Regions from separate parts of the Homo sapiens genome. Here all the other regions are linked to region 4. Evidence: promoter capture Hi-C in 16 types of primary human blood cells and fetal thymus (Javierre and others, 2016). All regions are on one chromosome and are shown on one strand. Each heading gives the region's core, a stretch centred on a gene start or on the middle of the fragment in contact. The rest is flanking DNA. Distances are from core to core; before and after follow the strand shown. Region 1 has its middle 110 kb from the start of LINC02518. Region 2 has its middle 150 kb from the start of LINC02518. Region 3 has its middle 300 kb from the start of LINC02518. Region 4 holds the start of LINC02880 (long intergenic non-protein coding RNA 2880). Region 5 overlaps LOC105377955 (a long non-coding RNA gene). Region 6 overlaps LOC107986636 (a long non-coding RNA gene). Region 7 has its middle 350 kb from the start of LINC02518.

Evidence for each region. The method cuts DNA at HindIII sites, captures the fragments that hold promoters and counts their contacts. A CHiCAGO score of 5 or more calls a contact.
Region 1: a contact is called between a fragment that was not itself captured here and the fragment with the promoter of LINC02880 in region 4, in 2 of 17 cell types (neutrophils and monocytes). The highest score is 6.3, in neutrophils.
Region 2: a contact is called between a fragment that was not itself captured here and the fragment with the promoter of LINC02880 in region 4, in 2 of 17 cell types (neutrophils and M0 macrophages). The highest score is 8.2, in neutrophils.
Region 3: a fragment that was not itself captured here is called in contact with the fragment with the promoter of LINC02880 in region 4 in 2 of 17 cell types (endothelial precursors and neutrophils); the score reaches 5.7 in endothelial precursors.
Region 5: a contact is called between a fragment that was not itself captured here and the fragment with the promoter of LINC02880 in region 4, in 1 of 17 cell types (endothelial precursors). The highest score is 5.5, in endothelial precursors.
Region 6: a contact is called between a fragment that was not itself captured here and the fragment with the promoter of LINC02880 in region 4, in 1 of 17 cell types (neutrophils). The highest score is 7.6, in neutrophils.
Region 7: a fragment that was not itself captured here is called in contact with the fragment with the promoter of LINC02880 in region 4 in 1 of 17 cell types (neutrophils); the score reaches 5.2 in neutrophils.

Annotation. Positions count from the first base shown.
Region 1 is chr6:113,322,483-113,325,182 of GRCh38, forward strand. No RefSeq gene overlaps it. Among named protein-coding and RNA genes, the nearest start is that of LINC02518, 110 kb to the right of the region's middle. The HindIII fragment of the contact is 9,773 bases long and covers 1-2,700 here.
Region 2 is chr6:113,281,669-113,284,368 of GRCh38, forward strand. No RefSeq gene overlaps it. Among named protein-coding and RNA genes, the nearest start is that of LINC02518, 150 kb to the right of the region's middle. The HindIII fragment of the contact is 967 bases long and covers 833-1,799 here.
Region 3 is chr6:113,135,259-113,137,958 of GRCh38, forward strand. No RefSeq gene overlaps it. Among named protein-coding and RNA genes, the nearest start is that of LINC02518, 300 kb to the right of the region's middle. The HindIII fragment of the contact is 1,671 bases long and covers 600-2,270 here.
Region 4 is chr6:113,903,098-113,905,797 of GRCh38, forward strand. LINC02880 (long intergenic non-protein coding RNA 2880) reads left to right here and starts at 1,290. Exons shown (of 4, transcript NR_027060.1): 1 at 1,290-1,647. The HindIII fragment of the contact is 3,143 bases long and covers 1-1,760 here.
Region 5 is chr6:113,180,557-113,183,256 of GRCh38, forward strand. The region is part of intron 1 of LOC105377955 (a long non-coding RNA gene); the gene reads right to left. The region is part of intron 5 of LOC105377953 (a long non-coding RNA gene); the gene reads left to right. Among named protein-coding and RNA genes, the nearest start is that of LINC02518, 250 kb to the right of the region's middle. The HindIII fragment of the contact is 949 bases long and covers 900-1,848 here.
Region 6 is chr6:113,061,853-113,064,552 of GRCh38, forward strand. All of the region lies in intron 2 of LOC107986636 (a long non-coding RNA gene), which reads left to right. Among named protein-coding and RNA genes, the nearest start is that of LINC02518, 370 kb to the right of the region's middle. The HindIII fragment of the contact is 4,715 bases long and covers 1-2,700 here.
Region 7 is chr6:113,078,593-113,081,292 of GRCh38, forward strand. No RefSeq gene overlaps it. Among named protein-coding and RNA genes, the nearest start is that of LINC02518, 350 kb to the right of the region's middle. The HindIII fragment of the contact is 7,020 bases long and covers 1-2,700 here.

The DNA of each region.
Region 1 (2,700 bases), core at 88-2,587, 580 kb before region 4:
CGTGAACTTCCAATAAAATGTTATTACTTTTCATTAGTTCTGATTGGGCCATTTGCTCATCTTTAACAAATTGCCATGATGAGGGGAATGCGATGCTCTAATTGACCAAACATAGCCATGTTTGGACTCTGATTCAGGGGAGCAACCAACTCTGCTTAGAGCACCGCAACTGGGAAAGAGGGAAAAGATGGTACCCAGATGAAATTCAGGGTACAGTTACAGCCAGAAGGGGAAAAAACTGCTGAGAGGCATAATAAAAGATGAATGTCCACTACACGATTGAAACAGAGACAAAGAATAACTGAGGGAAGTAGGAAATACAATGTCAAGAAAAATTTTATTGATAAAATAATTACTGAGCTGAATTTTGGAGGACAAGGAAGAGTAAGCTAGATGAATGTGCTCCTGTCCTTACCCCAGAGGTGAAAGGTAGGTGCAAACCACCAGGTGAGGTCACCAAGATTAAAGTCATTTAGTTCTGTTTCAATATGGGTTTTCCTTTAACTGCGGATCAAAGACTGTCAGCATCTATATTATGGAAGATAATTATTTTAAAATACAACTTTATCAGGCCTCACTTCATACCACCTAAATTTTGGATCCTTGGGGCTGGGGCCTAGAATCTGTACTTTAACAAAACTAAATTAGCCTAGAAGATTTTTATATGTATTAAAGTTTAAGAACCACAGTTCTATATCTAAATAATTTATCCAATTTCTTAGGAGACCATGGGTACAGTATTCATCCATCCAATGAACAGATATTTGTCTAGCACCTTATACATGCCAGGCAGTCTTCCAGGCACTGGGAATATGTCAGTGAAATACAGTTGCTGTTAAAAGGACATTTCTACATTATCTGTGAGGTCCAGTGCAAAACAAAAATGTGAGGACCTCTTGTTCAGATACTAAGAATTGTAAGACAGAGACAGAAGAGCATTAAACCAAGTGTGACTTCACAGGTCCCATGGCCATGAAACTGGCCCTGCCTGCCAGTATAACATCTATAATCCAGTTGAGCTAAAGACCCTCAGAAACAAGAAGACTGTAAGCTCTTAAAATAAAAAACTTGGAGGTTATCAAAAACACACCCCTTCCTTATTATTTTTTTGGCTCTGTTCCTCTTATCAAAGTAGATATTATCAAAATTAACTCTGACTCTTATTTCCTCGAGTTACTGATGTTTTGAAGAGCAAAAGTGTCTTTGAATTTGGCATAGATCAATAGGATTAGTCTTTCCACTTTATCGTACCAGTGGTTCTCCAAATCTGATCCTCGTAACAGCAACATTAGCAACACCTGCGAACTTCTTAGACCTGCCCCGGTCCTACTGAATCAGAAACTCTAGCGGTGGGGCCCAGCAATCTGTGTTTTAACATGCCCCCAGATAATTCCAATGCATGATAAGGTTTTAGAAGCACTGTATCACACATACAACATCTGGGGCAGAGAAGTGAGGCATTTTGGTGTATATTTCCATTAAAAACAAATTGTACTTATAATTGACTTATTATTTATTTGTTAGTAGAATCAAGAAGGTGTGTCCATTTAAGTAATTAGAAAGAAATATACCTAAAACAAAGTGATTTAGAAAGGTGAAAAACAAAAGAATAGACAAACTTTGACAACTGAGAACTAAAGATGCAAGGATTAAAATCTTAATAGTAGAATGTAAGCCAAAAAAGAATTAACAAGGTAAATAATGGCACTTTATAATGCTGAAGAGTATAATTTAAGGTGGAGATATGACATTCCACCAAGTAATATATCATCAATATTCATGAAACAAATTTCGGGAAAAAATAGAGAATAGATTTTTAAAAACTAATAGAAGAGGTCTTTAGTTCACCTGCTTTTAAGTCTCTAGCAATCACCTTAACAAAATATAAGAATATTTATAGAAAACCTAAATTGCATAATTGAAGTAGTTTATCTTATTGATAAAATTCAAACACCATCCTGAAAATGGAGAATGTTTTTTTAAGAGTCCATGAAACAATTACAAAATGAATAAAAATCAGAACATATGAAAACATCAATAATTTATAAAAGGATAAATAGTATAGACAATATTCCTCAATTACAATGCACACAAAAAGACACAAATAACAAAAACTGAAAACCAAAAGGCCCTTTCACCTGGACATTGAAAAAATTTTTCTCAGAAAAAATATAAACCAAAATCTCAGCACTTTTAGGAAACATGATAAGTAAAACACTACATAACAGAACTATGGGAAACAATAAAGAAACACTCAAAGGGAAACTTGTGGACCTAGGTATTACCTCAAAAAAAGAGAAATAACTAAAACAAAGTCAAGCCAATAGAACAGAATAGAGAGCCCAGGAATAAGGCTGCCATCTACAACCATCTCATCTTTGACAAAGCTGACAAAAACAAGCAATGGGGAAAAGACTCCCTATTCAATAAATGGTGCTGGGATAACTGGCTAGTCATATGCAGATGATTGAAGCTGGACCCCTTCCTTATACCATATACAAAAATAAATTCAAGATGGATTAAAGACTTAAATGTAAAACCCAAAACTATAAAAACTCTGGAAGACAACCTAGGTAATACTATCCTGGACATAGGCATGGGCAAAGATTTCATGAAAAAGACCCCAAAAGCAATCGTAAGAAAAGCAAAAATTAACAAGTGGGATCTAATTAAACTTACGAGCTTCTGCATCTGCACAGC
Region 2 (2,700 bases), core at 66-2,565, 620 kb before region 4:
AATTTTTAAGTCAGTCTGTCACATTCTTAAAATTCCACCAATTTATCTCATTATGAAATGTAAATATATTTGGCATCTTTGTGAATCTCTTTCACTATTCACATGGATTAATTCCATAGAGGATTCCTGCCTGGTTAATACCTAATTGAGGATGGGGAGCAGTTCTTTGGCATGTGCAGGAAACATCAGGAAAACCATGTAGCAAAACTATTAACAATGCAGTTCCAAATAAATTTTTGAAACAGTTTGTCAATTTCTTTTAAAAAAAAAAGTCTGCTGGAGTTTGATTGCAATCATATTAATTCTATAGATGAGTTTAGGGAAAATTAACATCTCAACATTGAGTCCTCTTAAGTGATGAACATGTTATATCTTTTCATTTATTTAGGTTTTCATTAATTTCTCTCAGTAATCTTTTGTAGTTTTCAGTGTACAGGTTTGTCCCCCACTTTATTAAACTAATCACTAAATATCTCATGTTTTTGATGTTATTAATAATGAAATATTTTAAAATTTATTTTTCAGTGGTTCAATGCAAATATTTATGAGTTCAATTGATTTTTATGTTTGGTTTATTGACCTTGTATTCTAAGATTTTGCTAAATTCCCTTACTAATTTCAGCAGGTTTTTTGTAGGTTCCTTAGGATTTTGTTTATATGTGGCCATGTTGTCTGTTAGTACAGAAAATGTTACTCTTTCCTTTCCAATCGGTATGTCTTTTATTTTACTTCTTTTGTTGTTATGGCTAGGAAAGCAAGCAACGTGTTATATGGAAGTGGTAAGGCCAGATATCCTTTTACTTGGTCCCAATTTGGGGGGAGAAAGCATTCAAGCTTTCATCATTATGTATGTTAGCTGACATTTTTAAAGTACCCTTTATCAGGGTGAGAAAACTACATTTTATTCCTAACTTGTTCATAAATTTTTATCGTGAATGAGTATTGAATGTTGTCAGATGTCCTTTTCTGCATCTATAAAGATAATCATGGTTTTCCCCTTTACTTTGTTAATTGATTAATTACTGAGTGATTTTTAAATGCTAAACCAACCTTATAATCTAGGGATTAACTAGACTTTGTCACAATTTATTATTTTTAAATGTTGCTGGATTTGTTACTATCAAAGACTTTTTCTCTGCATTCCTGAGGAATATTAATTTGTTGCTTGCTTTCTTATAATGTGCAGGTCTGACCTTGGTATAAGAGAAATGCTAGCCTCAGATAAAGAGTTAGGAAGTATTATCCTTTTATTTAAAAAAATATATAGAATTTCAGTTGTTCAGTTGTTTTTTCCTTTAATATTAGATAAAATTCAGCAGTAAGATTATCTGTTCCTGGGATGTTCTTCGGGAAAGATTTTTAAAACGAAATTGAAAATGTTTAGTTGGTAAACACTATTCAGTTTTCTATTTTTAAATAACTTTTGTAATTTTGTGTCTTTAAAGGCATTTGTTAATTTCACATAAGCTGTCAAACTTATCAGCATAAAGTTATTCATAGTATTTATCATTCTTTAAATATATGGAAAATTAATATGTATGTCCCTTCTTTCATACCTGATCTTGGTAATTTATATATCCCCTCTCTCTGTCTCTCTGAGTTGAGCTAGATATTTGTCAACATTACTGATCTTTCAGACATTTATGTGGCCAACAAACATATGAAAAAAACTCAACATCACTAATCATTAGAGAAATGAAAATCAAAACCACAATGAAATATCATCTCATGCCAGTCAGAATGGTGATTATTAGAGGTCAAGTAACAACAGATGTTGTGAGGGTGTGGAGAAATAGGAAAGCTTTTACACTGTTGGTGAGAATGTAAATTAGTTCAACCATTGTGGAAGACAGTATGGAGATTCCTCAAGGATGTGGAATCAGAAATACCATTTGACCCAGCAATCCCATTACTGGGTATATACCCAAAGGAATATAAATCATTCTGCTGTAAAGACACATGCACACATATGTTTAGTGAAGCACCATTTACAATAGCAAAGTCATGGAACCAACCCAAATGTCCATCAGTGATAGACTGGAAAATGTGGTATATATACACAATGAGATACTACACAGCCATAAAAAGGAAAGAGATCATGTCCTTTGCAGGGACACAGATGAAGCTGGAAGCCATCATTCTCAGCAAACTAACACAGAAACAGAAAACCTAACACTGCATGTTCTCACTCATAAATGGGAGTTGAACAATGAGAACACATGGATACAGGAAGAGGAACAACACACACCAGGGCCTGTTGGGGGATGGAGGGTGACGGGAGGGAACTTAGAGAATGGGTCAATAGGTGCAGCAAACCACCATGGCACACATGTACCTATGTAACAAACCTGCACATTCGGCACATGTATCCCAGAACTTAAGGTAAAAACAACAACAACAACAAACATTATTGATCTTTCAAAGTAACTAGATGTTGATTGTATTTTTATTATTCATTATTTGTTTACTTTCTATTTTACTAATTTCTGCTCTTATCCTTTTATTTATTTTTAAAAATTAAATTTGGGTTTAATTTGTTGTTCTTCTAGTTTCTTGAAGTGGAAACTTAGGTCACTGATTTTTGGATCTATCTTCTTTTCCAACATGAGCATGACAAGTATCTAAATCTATAAAATTCAAGGATTGCTTTAGGTTTCCCCCACATACTTTGATGTCTTATGTTTTCTCTCTTATTAATTT
Region 3 (2,700 bases), core at 185-2,684, 770 kb before region 4:
GTGTCCCTAAATTGAAGATGTATGCTTATGCAATTGACTTGAATCTGTTGGAAAAATGAGTATATCATTTTATAAAAAAGTTAAATCATTGATGTCAGATGTCAGAGCTTACAATAATCAGAATGCATAGCATTGTATACAGCTTCATGATTCTAAAATCATTTGCACAAGCATCTTGAGAGTGAGAGAAAGAAAGAAAACGAATTTATCACTGAATACAGAAAACACATCACCCTTTTTTACCACCTGTGACCCACGCCCTGCAGCCATGTGTTATGATTCTGTACCAAGCAATTTCAAGGAGATGCTCTTGGAGGATATTTATGGGAGGACTTTCCTGCTCTTCTGGATCACTATTTCACCTTTTGCCGTGCCAAGTCAGAATCAGAATGACTGATATTCTAAGAGGTATATAAAAATCAAATTCATCAAGAAACCAAGCATTCACTAAAGGATGGTATTAATTTGGAAGTCTGCATTTTTACATGTGAGTTATATAACCAAATCTTCATTGAAACATTGCGGTTCACTTTGCCAATCCTAGTTTTAGAATATGAAAGGTAAAATTAAGTAGAGAACAAAGTGTTTAACATTTCACAAGCTTGAAGAGGAACAATGGTTATTTACTAACATCAAACTTCAAAAAATTATTTCTAGGACTGGAATATTGGCCTCCATTTTTTTTTACACTAAAGTTACCATTTTAATGTGAAAGACTGAACAGACTAAATGTTTTCTAAAGTAATTTATTTTTACAATATTTTCACATAGTTCAACTTGAAACTGCACTGAGATTGTAATACATTGGAAACAAAATTTAATTTTCAGATCAACCTTTAGTGTATCTTTTGAAAAGTTGTGTATAATATAAACTTCTAAGATGCTCTTGCCAAAAATGAATTTTTATATCCTGTCATTCAAATTATGCATGAGGTTTACTAAAAGCTCCATCTGAATTGTGAGAAACTGTTTCCTAAATGTGTATGTGTACAAACAGGCACACATTCGTGTGCACATATATCAGAAAAACATGTCTTATATTATTCCTATAACAAGTTCTCCATTCTGCTACCATTATCTGTAAGTTTCTGTGATTGCAGTAGTTTATAAAAGGACTTATCTTTCCTGTTAAAGCAATAAGCATCCAAAACTCAGAGTGTGGATGTTCAAAGTCTAGTTGAAAATAAATATCATTATTCATATTTTGATTTTATGCACAGCTGTGGTCTTCCTTTCTCTGTTGTTAACAGAGCTGTCTTCTCTTTTCAGTGAAAGCAAAACAAAGAGCAGATTGGAGATTCATTTATGGTGAGGGTTAATGTTAGTTAACATTCAATCTTTAGTTATAATAAGCATATACATGTGTGGGTGTTTTATGTACATGTGTGTTCAATTTCTTCTACCAATATGGTTAACCATGGATTTAAATAGTTTCCAAGTCTTTCCTTCATTAAAGTTTCTTTAATGAAAGGAAATAGATTAAGAACAGCAACATTAGCAAAGGTGACATTTGCTCGATGTTAATATGGTATGAATAACAAAACTCATCATGTCACCAGGTTGGATGCGGTGGCTCATGTCTGTAATCCCAGCACTTTGGGAGGCTGGGCATGGTGGCAGGTGCCTGTAATCCCAGCTACTCAGGAGGCTAAGGCAGGAGAATCATTTGAACCCCGGAGGCAGAGGTTGCAGTGAGCCAAGATCGCACCACTGCCCTCCAGCCGGGGCGACAGAGCGAGACTCTGTCTCAAAAAAAAAAAAAAAAATTTCCTCAGTAGAACCTGTGTGTGAAATACCAGGATTGCCCGTGAGGAGGCATATGAACAAACTTTCTCCTGTTTTTGTTTTGTTTTGTTTTGTTTCTCCTAGAACATCAAGAAAATTCCAGATTAAGACTATTCCTCTAAAATTTAAATGCACTCAATATTCAAGCAAGCCTGAAAGATGTCTTTTAACTTTCACCCTCAGTATTTGTCATGCCATACTGCAAGAACAATCTCCACATGTTCATCCATGAGGCACAGGGGCAGCAGACCGTACATTTTAATGGGACCATTTTCTTAAAATGTCAGTAGTATACCTTGGCTTGCATATAAAAATATATTCTGAGAATTTAAATATTTTCAACAAAAACCCCTAGCTTTTGAACACACTTAGGTTCACAACTCCCACAAATACTTTTTCCTTCTCTCAAATTTCAGGCAACAAGAGTGCCAGAAGATGTGGAATTTGTATAACCCCAAACTGTGTTTTCCTAACTAATCTTGGCAAGCTTAAAACCCTGGAAAGTCACAATTCACTTCCCAGGCGATCATCCTGGACAGCTCAACAGCAGAAAAGCAGAACAGGATATCCAGCTATTGAACCGGGCTGCCGGCCCAGGTGGCCAGCCTTGAAGCTGTGGAGAGCGCCTACCAGGAGGGCCGCATGGGCTGCAGGAAGACACGTTCCTTTCCTCTGTCTGTTGTGAGCTGGAAAGGAAAGTACAGTCTGCACTCCCGAAACACTGCCTGCCAACACAGCACTTTTCAGCAAAGGTGAAAAGAGAGTATGTCTCTAACAATAAATGTCACAAGAGGAACAAATCATTTATAAGATTCAGGAGGCCCCAACTCAAGCAGATAGTTGGCAGTGGAAAAACAGCTTCAATTTTATTACTGTATTGAATGAGACATAGCTTCACAGATGTGAGACCATTTA
Region 4 (2,700 bases), core at 40-2,539:
CAGTTCCTTTTGTTCTAAGGGTATATCCCACTTGAGGTCTACAGTCAATTCCCAGGTTTTAATGTCACTTGAAATACTTTCTCCCAAGAGGATGTGCCACCAACTCAATATCTAGTTAGGTTTGACTTTTTTCATTTTGTTTTGAGTTTTAACGATTATATCTTAATATTTATCAACTATATATTTTGGAAATCTTTTCATACTTGCATGTAGAGATATTCTTCTTCTTTTTTTTACAGCTGTGTACTACTGCATTGTGTGAATGTACCATAGTTGAGGGTCCCCTATTGATGGACATTTGAGTTTTTTCTAATACACAAATTGTGCTGTGATAGGTGGCCTTGTGAATACATCTTTCCATTTCTGTCAGTGCATCTTTGGGATAAATTAGAAACTGTAATGCTAAATCAAAAGTAGCCAGTAGAATGTCTTTTTGCTTGAATAATCATAATATTTATCCTGTGCTCTAAGGGTGAAATGATGCCACCTCTTCCCCAAGTGCAGGGAATGAAGAGATGAGCCTTTGGCCCCTGATATGTCAACAATTATCTCTCCTAGAAGACCAACTGAGCTCTCTTACCAGTAGACTTTCTGGAAGAACATCCAAACATGTCCTGATAGAAACAAAGCCAGATCTTGTCTCAGAAGAAAAAAAAAAAAATAGGGGCAAAAATATTCTACACAGATCACAAAAGTTTTCTTAGGAAACCATGCTCCCCCTGGACAGCTCCCCAGGAAGGTAACCCTTGGCGTTGATCTTGCGATTGGAAGGGTGTTCATTTTTTAATTATGCTGACAGACATTCAGTGAGAACTGTACTTCCCGAGGGCTAGTGAGCAGGGGGAGGTTTTCCCTGTTGTGCTCAGGCAGGACGTTCCAGGGATCTGGGGAGGCCCTGACATAACTGCACGTTCACACGGCTGCCCCTCCCTCCTCCTCCCTCTGTCTTCTCCAAAACAAATGACCTCGCTGGGATCCTGTTTGCCTTTTACTGACTTCCTGGACCAAAGCAGTGTGCCTGTGAGTGCAACAGCTGATCCCTTTCGGAGTGGAGTTTCCTAGCTGGTGCCTGTCCTCTCTTGAGCCTTTGTTTCTTGAGTGAGCACTCACTGGGGCTGTGGCTCCATGAACTGGATTTCAGGAAACCAGCCAAGGCATTCTCTCTCTCTCTCCATTCCTAGAAAGGCAGAAAGCCTGGGAATGGGTTCGGCAGGAAGATCTCTGTACCTCAATCTCCATTGCTTTCAGCACCACTGGCTTTCTCCCCAGCTCAAGTGCAAAACCTGCCATCGTTGCTACCTGGGGTGCCTCAGACTCACCCAAGTCCCCCAGGCCAGAGGACATGCTCTCAAGCCTTGTTTCAGAAAGAGGGACCCAAAGGCTGTTAGGGAAGAGAACCAGGGTCCTCAAACCCAGGGTTTTCTCACCCACTGCCTCTGCTCTGGCTGTGGCCTGCCAGACCTCTCCTCTGATTTTCGCTTTCCTTCCTGCCAGTGCCTTTGTTTATCCGAGGCGCCAAGATCCCACTGTGAAGTCTGAAAGGAAGACCAGTGGTTCTCGCTTTTCCTCTAGATGCTGTGTCTCCCAATGTCATCTTCTTTCCTCTCAAAGACAATTGGACGTTGTTACAGATTTTCTTGGAATGAGGTGAGTGGACGTTGTTTTTCCCTAGGAATGTTCTCCTGTGCTTCAGAGACATATTTAGAAGGGCATAAGAACAAGAGGAATTAGTGTGGGTCCCTGCCACTGGCACCCCTCCAAGCTTGGCTTTACCCCTTCATGTCAACACCATTTCCTCCCAGGCTTTTCACAGCTTTACAGCCCATCTCAAGTCTTTAACTGCTAAGTGAGCTTTAAAGAAAAGAAAAATCTTCAAAGGCTCCACCAAAGGAAAGAACGGGGCACCTCACATTCGGCCTAAGACAGGAGTGAAAAGACAGGAGATTTGACATTCGCATGGCTGTTCTCTATCCCACCCACTTACAACTTTATACTTATCCTCCCGAAGTCTCAATCCAGCTTCAATTTTATCTGAAAAGGGTCATTTGGGATACAAAAAGCTGCTCCTCCAATGCCACCAAACAACTGCTGGTGCCCTCTATTAACCATCTGAGAAAGCCTAAACATCTCTCCAGCACAAGTAGACCAGGAATTCCCAGCCCCCATCCCATATAAAATCCAAACGATGACAGTAATTGAATGACACAGTGTATTCAATAACCCCACCGTACCTTCCTTCTCACTTCCAGGGGTGATCACATTGACATCTCACCTCATCCGTGGGCTGCCCACAGCCTGGCTATGTCCAGGACTTCTGGTCTCTCTCTCTCTCTCTCTCTAAAAGATAGGGTCTCGTTATGTTGCCCAGGATAGATGTGAACTCCTGGGCTCAAGCGACCCTCTCCTCTCAGCCTCCCAAGGAGTTGTGACTACAGTCTCACACCACCATGCCCAGCTAAGCTCACTGCACATGTCAATGTCTTATCTCCCGGCCCTTCCCTTCTTCCGTTTGTCCTCCCCTCCCCTGTTCTCACTATTCACCTTTCCTTCAGTTGCCCACCTACTTCCATGTTCGGAGGCCAGTGCTCTTTGGATCTGACATGTTGTGTGTGGGTCCCAATGGTTCATAGAAGGCCAGAGGGTCAGACACTTCTGCTCAGTAAGGGGAAGGATGAGAGGATCCATCTTGATCCTTCCCAT
Region 5 (2,700 bases), core at 124-2,623, 720 kb before region 4:
CTCATGCTCATTGATGCTCTGGCACTGCCTAAAATCTGAGGGCCATGTGTAAACTTTCCAGCTCTCATTTTTTCCTTGTACATTAAGGCCAAAGAGACAGAGAACCATTCTTTCCAAGGTCCTGCTCTTGTTGGGCAGATAGGTCCCTTCTTTGTCATCACTTTCCTCAGTATGTGCCCAGCATGATTGATGCTGTCTATTATCTAAAAATGTCCTTCAATAACTTCCTTGACTCTTACAGCACCCCAGGACATCCATAAACCAAAATGTGTATTTCCCTGAACAGCAAGCAAGGAGGTGGGCATTGAGGAAATGTTAAGTCCCTATACTTGTATTAATGGGAGCTGGGATGGGGAAGTAGGTGGTATTGAATGGAATCAGTTTTCTGAACCAGAGACTCATCAATGGCATGGGTAGATGGAAAGAAAATTTCTTCCCTTACCCAAGATATTTCTAACAAACATGTTATCTAAGTATGCATATTACATTTATGTTTCTTTTCTAAACATTTTACATAGCTATTAAGTAAAGTTGGTAAGTAAACTATGGTATGGCATTTTCTTTTTTAGCTATAACTTCTGTTTTACAGAACTGGCACACTGAGCACCCATAAACTTATTTTGTTTAGCTCACACAGTGTTTAATTAAAATTAATTACTAGCATTTAAATATTTTGAAATTTCAAATGAAAATCCAAGTTTCTGACTACTCTTGTAAACCTGGATAGTTGAACAACACTGGGACTGTTCTTGCGTGGCTGCAGTTGACTGCAGCTGAATAGATACTGGTGCCCTAAGCCAAGGCAAGTGCTCTCTAGCCACTTGCCCACAACCACTTTATTCATTCCCTTTTCTTTCTGGGCCTTGAAGCATTAGCGTGCAAAAATGCTTGCATAAGGAAGCTTAATATCCCTTCCAAGAATGATCTAGTCTTTCAATTTCAAGATGAAATACGGCACACTGATAAATATTTGCTGCACACACACACTTAAAAACACAAAGTATATACATCCTCATGAATCAAATCATCCTCAAGTCTAAATAACTAAAAGGGAGACATATCTCCTGTATTGAAAGAAAGCCCTGTAGGATTTAAAATACAAGGAATGCATGGAGAAGGTGGGCAGCATGTACACAGCTGAAATATAATGGATCAATCTAACAAGAAATCTTGCACAGAGATTCTAAACGAATAGTCAGCTTTTTCCTCTTAGAAAAACCAGCATTGACAATGGAGAGAATAGGGAAGGTTCTGGGACACAAAATAAGAAGGACAAAAGTTTATCTTTGGAAAACTAAACCTGTAACCACTTGTTAACACTTTATTTTACAAATCTGCTCTTGATTTATGAAATTTTCAAAGATAGTTAAAATCATCCTTTCCTAAGAAGAACCACTCCTTTTTACATTTAAAAGAATCCTAGACATTTGAGCAATAATAGTTTATAGATACCATTGCCTTAAATAAATGTAAAAAAGAACTCAGGACATCTCTTTTGCCAAGATTACTCAAAATTTAGGAAATTACATAAATACACTCAGAAGTTCAAGGGTCAGCTTTTCTTTATCTTCAGTCTTCATCACGCATTTGCAATACATTATAAAGACTGATAGCTTCCATAAGCAGATAAAAAAATTGTTGGGATAGGAAAGTTTAATCGATATAACTTAAAAGTACCACAGATACCTGATGAATGTCAAAATGTCATATTCCCCTTTTTGCTGTGTTACTAGAGCCATTTGATTTTAAAGAAAACGTAAAATGTCAAAGCATCAGAAAATTTCTGTATGGTCTTTCTGTTCAAGGTTCCCCATCTTTCTTGGCTATTAACCAATATACTCAAGAAAAAGCTTTCATCACTCCAAAAAAAAAAAAAAAAATTTCAAGGGGGTTAGCACTTGAGGCATTGTCTTCCTTAAAACACTTCCTATTTGATTCCCTCTGACAGCTGTTTATGTTGAAGATTACTAACATTCCCAAAGTACTTCATAGTAAAGATTAAACCTGAAGATTACAAAGGTTTATGCATTTTCACATACTGTGATGTGACCTTAATCTACTTAAATCTAAAGAAAAAAAGTCATTTTACAAAGACCCATTTAGCTATTTCGACATGATTCTTTATTTTTTTGGATGCTTATTTGGCATATGAGCCAGAAATTTAAAATGTAACAAAAAATATGTCTTGAAAAAAATTAAAAACAGGCATTTGCAGCACGATGGAAAAGTTCTATAGAGCTTTGAGGGAAGTCCATTCAATTTCACTGGCATTCATAAATGATGACTAATGCATTCAAATAGAATGAGTAATTTACCAAATTACAGACATTTGGATGGGCTCAGAATGAAGATGTTGTTTGTTTGGATATGTCCTGAAGTGAATCTCAATGAGGTTTACTTTGTTATGCCTGACTCTACAAATAGACTTCAGTCACAATTTGAACAAAAGCCCTGACATGTAAATAAATGTGCAAATGATGCCCAGCTACATTATTCTTTTTGTCCTCGGACCACTCAGGAACAGTCAACTCCATTAAAAAATATCAGTCACAAATAGATGGCACCATTGTACTTATCACAAAAGCACCATAAAATAGGCTTCTCTTGGCAAGTTATCAGTGTTATACCCATTCTCTTCACGCCACAAAAACCAAGTCCACACATGCTACAAAATACCTCTCCTAGCAGCCATGGGCTACC
Region 6 (2,700 bases), core at 146-2,645, 840 kb before region 4:
ATAATGCTGAAAAAAGTGTGTTTTATCAGGCATACATTTAAAAGTTTCTATAGCATATATCCCTAGAAATAGAATTTCTGGATTTTAAGACATACAAATCTTAATTTTACTAGATATTGTTAAGTTGCTTCCCATAGAGGTTGTATCAATTTACTCTGCTACCATAAACATGACAATTCTTTGCCAGCATGCAGTTTTGTGATATTTCCAAAAAATTTCATCAGTCTCATGCACCTAATTTTTGTTTTAAATTGAATTTCTATGATTGCTTACAAAATTAAGCAACTTTTCACATTTATTGGCCATGTAGATTTCTTCTTTTGTAAATTGCTCCCATGTTTATTTTATTTTCATTCACTTCTTTGCCGTTTGCTTATTCATTTGTAGATGTTAATTATATTTTCTGAGTAATAATCCCTTGTTATATCTTTACTGGGGCAGGAGACATTGGCTGTGTGTTTGTGTGTGCACACGTGTGTTGTGTGTGTATGTATGTGCATATATGTATTTGGGTCAGTTGTCCCTTGATATCCATGGAGGATTGGTTCCAAAACCTCCTACAGATGACAAAATATGCAGACTCTCAAGTCCCTGATATAAAATAAAATGGCGTATTCGCATATAGCCTATGCACATCCTTCTATATACTTTAAATCATCTCTAGATTACTTACAATGCCTAATGCAATGTAAATACTATGTAAATAGTTGTTCTACAATATCATTTAGATATAACAAGAAGAAAATAAAGACTGTACACATTCATTACAGACACAGTATTTTTCAAATATTTCTACCCACATTTGGTTGAATTTATGGATGCAGAGCCCACGAATAAGAAGGGCCAGCTATATATAGTCTATACATAAATCTGATATACATCTGTTCCACCTGGATGGGTGTGTTTTAGGACATTGTTACATTGCTTTATTTGTCTTGCTCTATAATATCTAGTAAGTGGTTTAATTAAGATAACTTAAAAATAAATATTGATTTTTGCAGGAAAAACACCTCTCAATACATATTTTATTCTCCTTTGTCTATTTTTTATATTTTCTTTTTGCCATGAAGTTTAAATTACCTTTTCAAGTTTTATGTGACAACTATTTATCCAGCTTTAGTAGCAATTCTTAAATTAGCAATATGTTTTATGAATGTAACTTATATTTTGTTTGTTTTTTATAATTTTTCTTTTTAGTTTGTTGGGGGTACATATTAGGTGTATACATTTATGAGGTATGTGAGATATTTTGGTACAGGCATGCAATACATAATAATCACAACATGGAAAATGGGGTATCCATCCTCTCCAGCATTTATCCTTTGTGTTCCAAATAATCCAATTATATTCTGTTAATTATTTGAAAATGTACAATTAAATTATTATTGATGACAGTCACTCTGTCATGCTATTAAATACTAGGACTTATTCATTTATTCTAATATTTTTTTGTACTCATTAAACATCCCCATCTCCCTGCCAACACAACCCAATACTCTTCTCACCCTCTGGTAACCATCCTTCTGCCCTCTTTCTCCATGAGTTCAACTGTCTTCATTTTTAGATCCCATGAATAAGTGAGAACATGTGATGTTTGTCTTTCTGTACCTGGCTTATTTTACTTAACATAATGACCTCCAGTTCCATCTGTGTTGTTGCAAACGGCTGAATCTCATTCTTTTTTTATATCTCAATAGTACTCCATTATGTATTTGTGCCACATATTATTTATCCATTCATCTGTTGGTGGATACTTAGGTTGCTTCCAAATTTTGGCTATTGTGAACAAAGCTGCAACAAACATGGGAGTGTAGCTATCCCTTTGATATAATGATTTCCTTTCTTTTGTATATATACCCAGCAGTGGGATTGATGCATCGTATGGTAGCCCTATTTTTAATCTTTTGTGAATGTAACCTACTTTAAATGATTGATGCAAATTAGGTTCCTAAGGCTTACATTTCCCCAAACATTTATTTATTTGTCTGTTTATTTACTTAATTTGATTATGGTATAATAAATTTAAGTTGTTTAGAGTATACAATTGTATCTAGTTTTGACATCTCTAAACACCTGTGAATGCTTTAAGACAATTAAGATGATCATTTTTATTATTCCTAAAGTTTAATTGTACTACTTTCCATCCCATCCCTCCTTTTACCCCTGCCCCAGGCAATTACCAGTGTGATTTCTATTTCTGGATTTAGTTTACACTTTTTAGAATTTTATACACATGACATCATATCATATGCATTACTTTTGTATAGTTTCTTTCATTTAGCAAATAGATTTTTATAATCATCCATGTTGTGGTCTGTATCAATAGTTTATTCCTTTATTTTCTGTGTGATAGTGAATGAATGATCCATTGAATGGATGTATTTCAATTTACGTATGCATTAACCTGTTGATGGATATTTGCATTTTTTTCCAGTTTGAGGCTCTTACATATAAAATTGCTGTGAATATTTATGTACAAGCCTTCATGTGAATGTGCCTTTATGTTTTATTGCTCTTGGATATATACCTAGGAGTGGAATGCCTAGATGATATGGCAGGCATTTAAGTTTTCACTAAACTGCAAATTAGTTTTTAAAGTGGTTGTACTATTCTACATTCCCACTAGCAGTGTAAGAGAATTCCAGTCCTTTCATATTATCACCAATACTTAGTGTGGTTAGAACTACATTTTTGTGTTAA
Region 7 (2,700 bases), core at 27-2,526, 820 kb before region 4:
TGAAATGACAATGGCTTTGTAATGTAATACAATAAAACAGGATTTTTTTCTTAATTAACTATGGTTTATAGACTAATAGAAAAATTAATAGTACCTGGAAGCTGAAATTGCTAGAAACTAAGAGAGGGCATGTGAATGCACATGTAATGAGAAATTAAAATTACCTCCTTGAAGTTACTTTCAACTTAGGGATAAGGGACTAAAAGAATTCAGATAGGATAAGAAATAACCAATATTTCAACTTTTGCAGGAACTAGGCTTGAAACACATTTGTTAACTTTAAAAATAACCAACATTTTTTCTCCATTGTTTTAAACTTAGATTCTCTCCACCTCTGTTTTTCACTGAAGTAGTTGTAAAAGTGACATTGGGTACCATTTCCACCCAACAGATGCAGGAAATACTGGAAATCTTTTAACAAAATCTGTACTGCAGAGATTTCCTTCTGAATTTCGCAAACTTCAGCAATTCACATAAATGAAAATTCAAAACAAAACAAAGCGAAAACTTTTTGGCATTAACCCGTGAGTTACAGAGTGAGATTTTAAAAGGTAAAATGAAATTCCATTATGATAATTTCGGGATGACAGGACAAACTTTTCTTGAGTTTACATGAGAAACTTTGTCATTATTCTGTTTTAAGTTGAATGTCATTAGGTTTGAAAGTCCTTTTGGTGATTAGAATTAATTCTTTCCATAAATATCCAACCACATGCCACAAACAAAATTTAAAAAAAGTTTGTAGATATATGAAACACATTTCATATATCTACATATGTCTTTTCATGTAAGTCAGGGGATGGAGGATAATCTATATCTTTTAAACAATATAGTACCTTAGTTTGAAAATAATTGATATTGAAAACTCTTTTAGAATGTGAGATAGCTGTAACAATTATGTTCAAATTATTAAGAATAACCTCAGAAATGCACTTTTAATGCTTGTGTCACTTTAAGGGCACAATATGAAGGTTAAGTTTGAGAGTGTGCACAAATAAATTTCTTGTTCATTAACCAAATGCACTCTTTTAATATTTTGCTGAAGATATTCCTATCAATATGCCTTGGCATTATTAAGTGTGGACACACTTCATTGTGCTAACAACTCACTAGATGCTTTGCTAGCAGCAGAATCCTTTCCTGGTACCAATACTGTTAGATCGGTTGTTAAGAAATTATGGATTAATCCAATTTTTTAATATTATCCTTTCCTACCACATGCATATAAACATAGTTTGGAGTTCATTTTCAAATATAAAGTACACTGAATACAAAATAAACTCTGTGTTGCTTCAAAACTTCGTAGGATGCTGACTCAATACAGAAAAGATATTTGATTGTTTCTTAAACCAGAATTTGAACAGACAAAAATTATTGAGTGTTATTTTAATATAAAAAATGAATCTCAGTTTAAATTTATACTTAAAAATCCCATTAACATGAATGTTCTTAGATAGTTGATTTAGTATCTTTTTTGCTTATATATATATGTATATGTTATGTTTATTCAGAAAGAGAGAGAGAAGAAGGAAGGAAGGAAGGGAGGGAAGAGAGAGAAGAAGGAAGGAAGGAAGGAAGAGAAATTGGAATGACTGACAATGTATTCTTCAGCACGGCCAGGTAAGATGCGCTAAAAGTAGCCTCTAATTATTTTATTGGTCAATGTATTAATAAAAGGTACAATATAATCACTTATGTAAGTCACCAATTACATAAAACAAAAATATTGTGAATTTGTTAAAATGTCTGTGATGGATCCTCCAGAACACCCTCTGTGAAAGCACAATGTGGGTTTGGTTGAGGATTTTCGATCAGATCTCTCAGGGTACGCCAATTACATCACTTTACAGTGAAAAAGACCTATTCCTATTAATAATATACACAAAGCAAAGTTTTATCAGCAGGTGAGGTAGAATCATTTTATTTCCTGTTGTTATGCTCCAATATACTTTTACTAGCAAAACCTTTCTCAGATTTTTATAGAATAATTATAACTTGATGGTCTAAAAAGTTTTAAATATTAAAAATAAGATAGATTTTATTTTTTTAATATTTCTTAGGTGAAAATGTTAATTTTTCTTTATAAACAAACACATTGTATATATCTATAGATGTCTTCTCATGTAAGTCAGGGGCTGGAGGATAATCTATATCTTTTAAACAATATAGTAACTTAGTTTGAAAATAGGTGATATTGAAACTCTTATAGAATGTGAGATAGCTGTAATAATTATATTCAAATTCTTAAGAATAGCCTCAGAAATGCACTTTTAACGCTGTGTCACTTTAGAGGCAGGATAAGCAGGTTAATGTGTTATAAATTAAAATTAATAACATCTGATGTTATAGCACAGGGTCCTCAAGAAAAACAAAGACTAAGTATAAAATTGTTGGCAAAGTACCTACCAAGCATGTGGCACTGCTGTCGCTCAGTAATATTTAAATAACCACCTTTCTTGAATGGTTAACAGAGAATTTGTGAAGCCTGATCAGGCATGGACAACTTAAATAAAGATAACATGCGATATCAAGAAATAAAAATAAGTTTAGCTTGCAAATTTTTGAAAAAGATTTTTTACTGTAACTTGTAAATTTTTAGAATACAAAAAGACCACCAGTTTTAAAGACTATTATTTAAGGCTGAATAAATTGTCACCATCCAGATAAGTAGCATATAGGCATGTTTTAATTTTCCTGCAA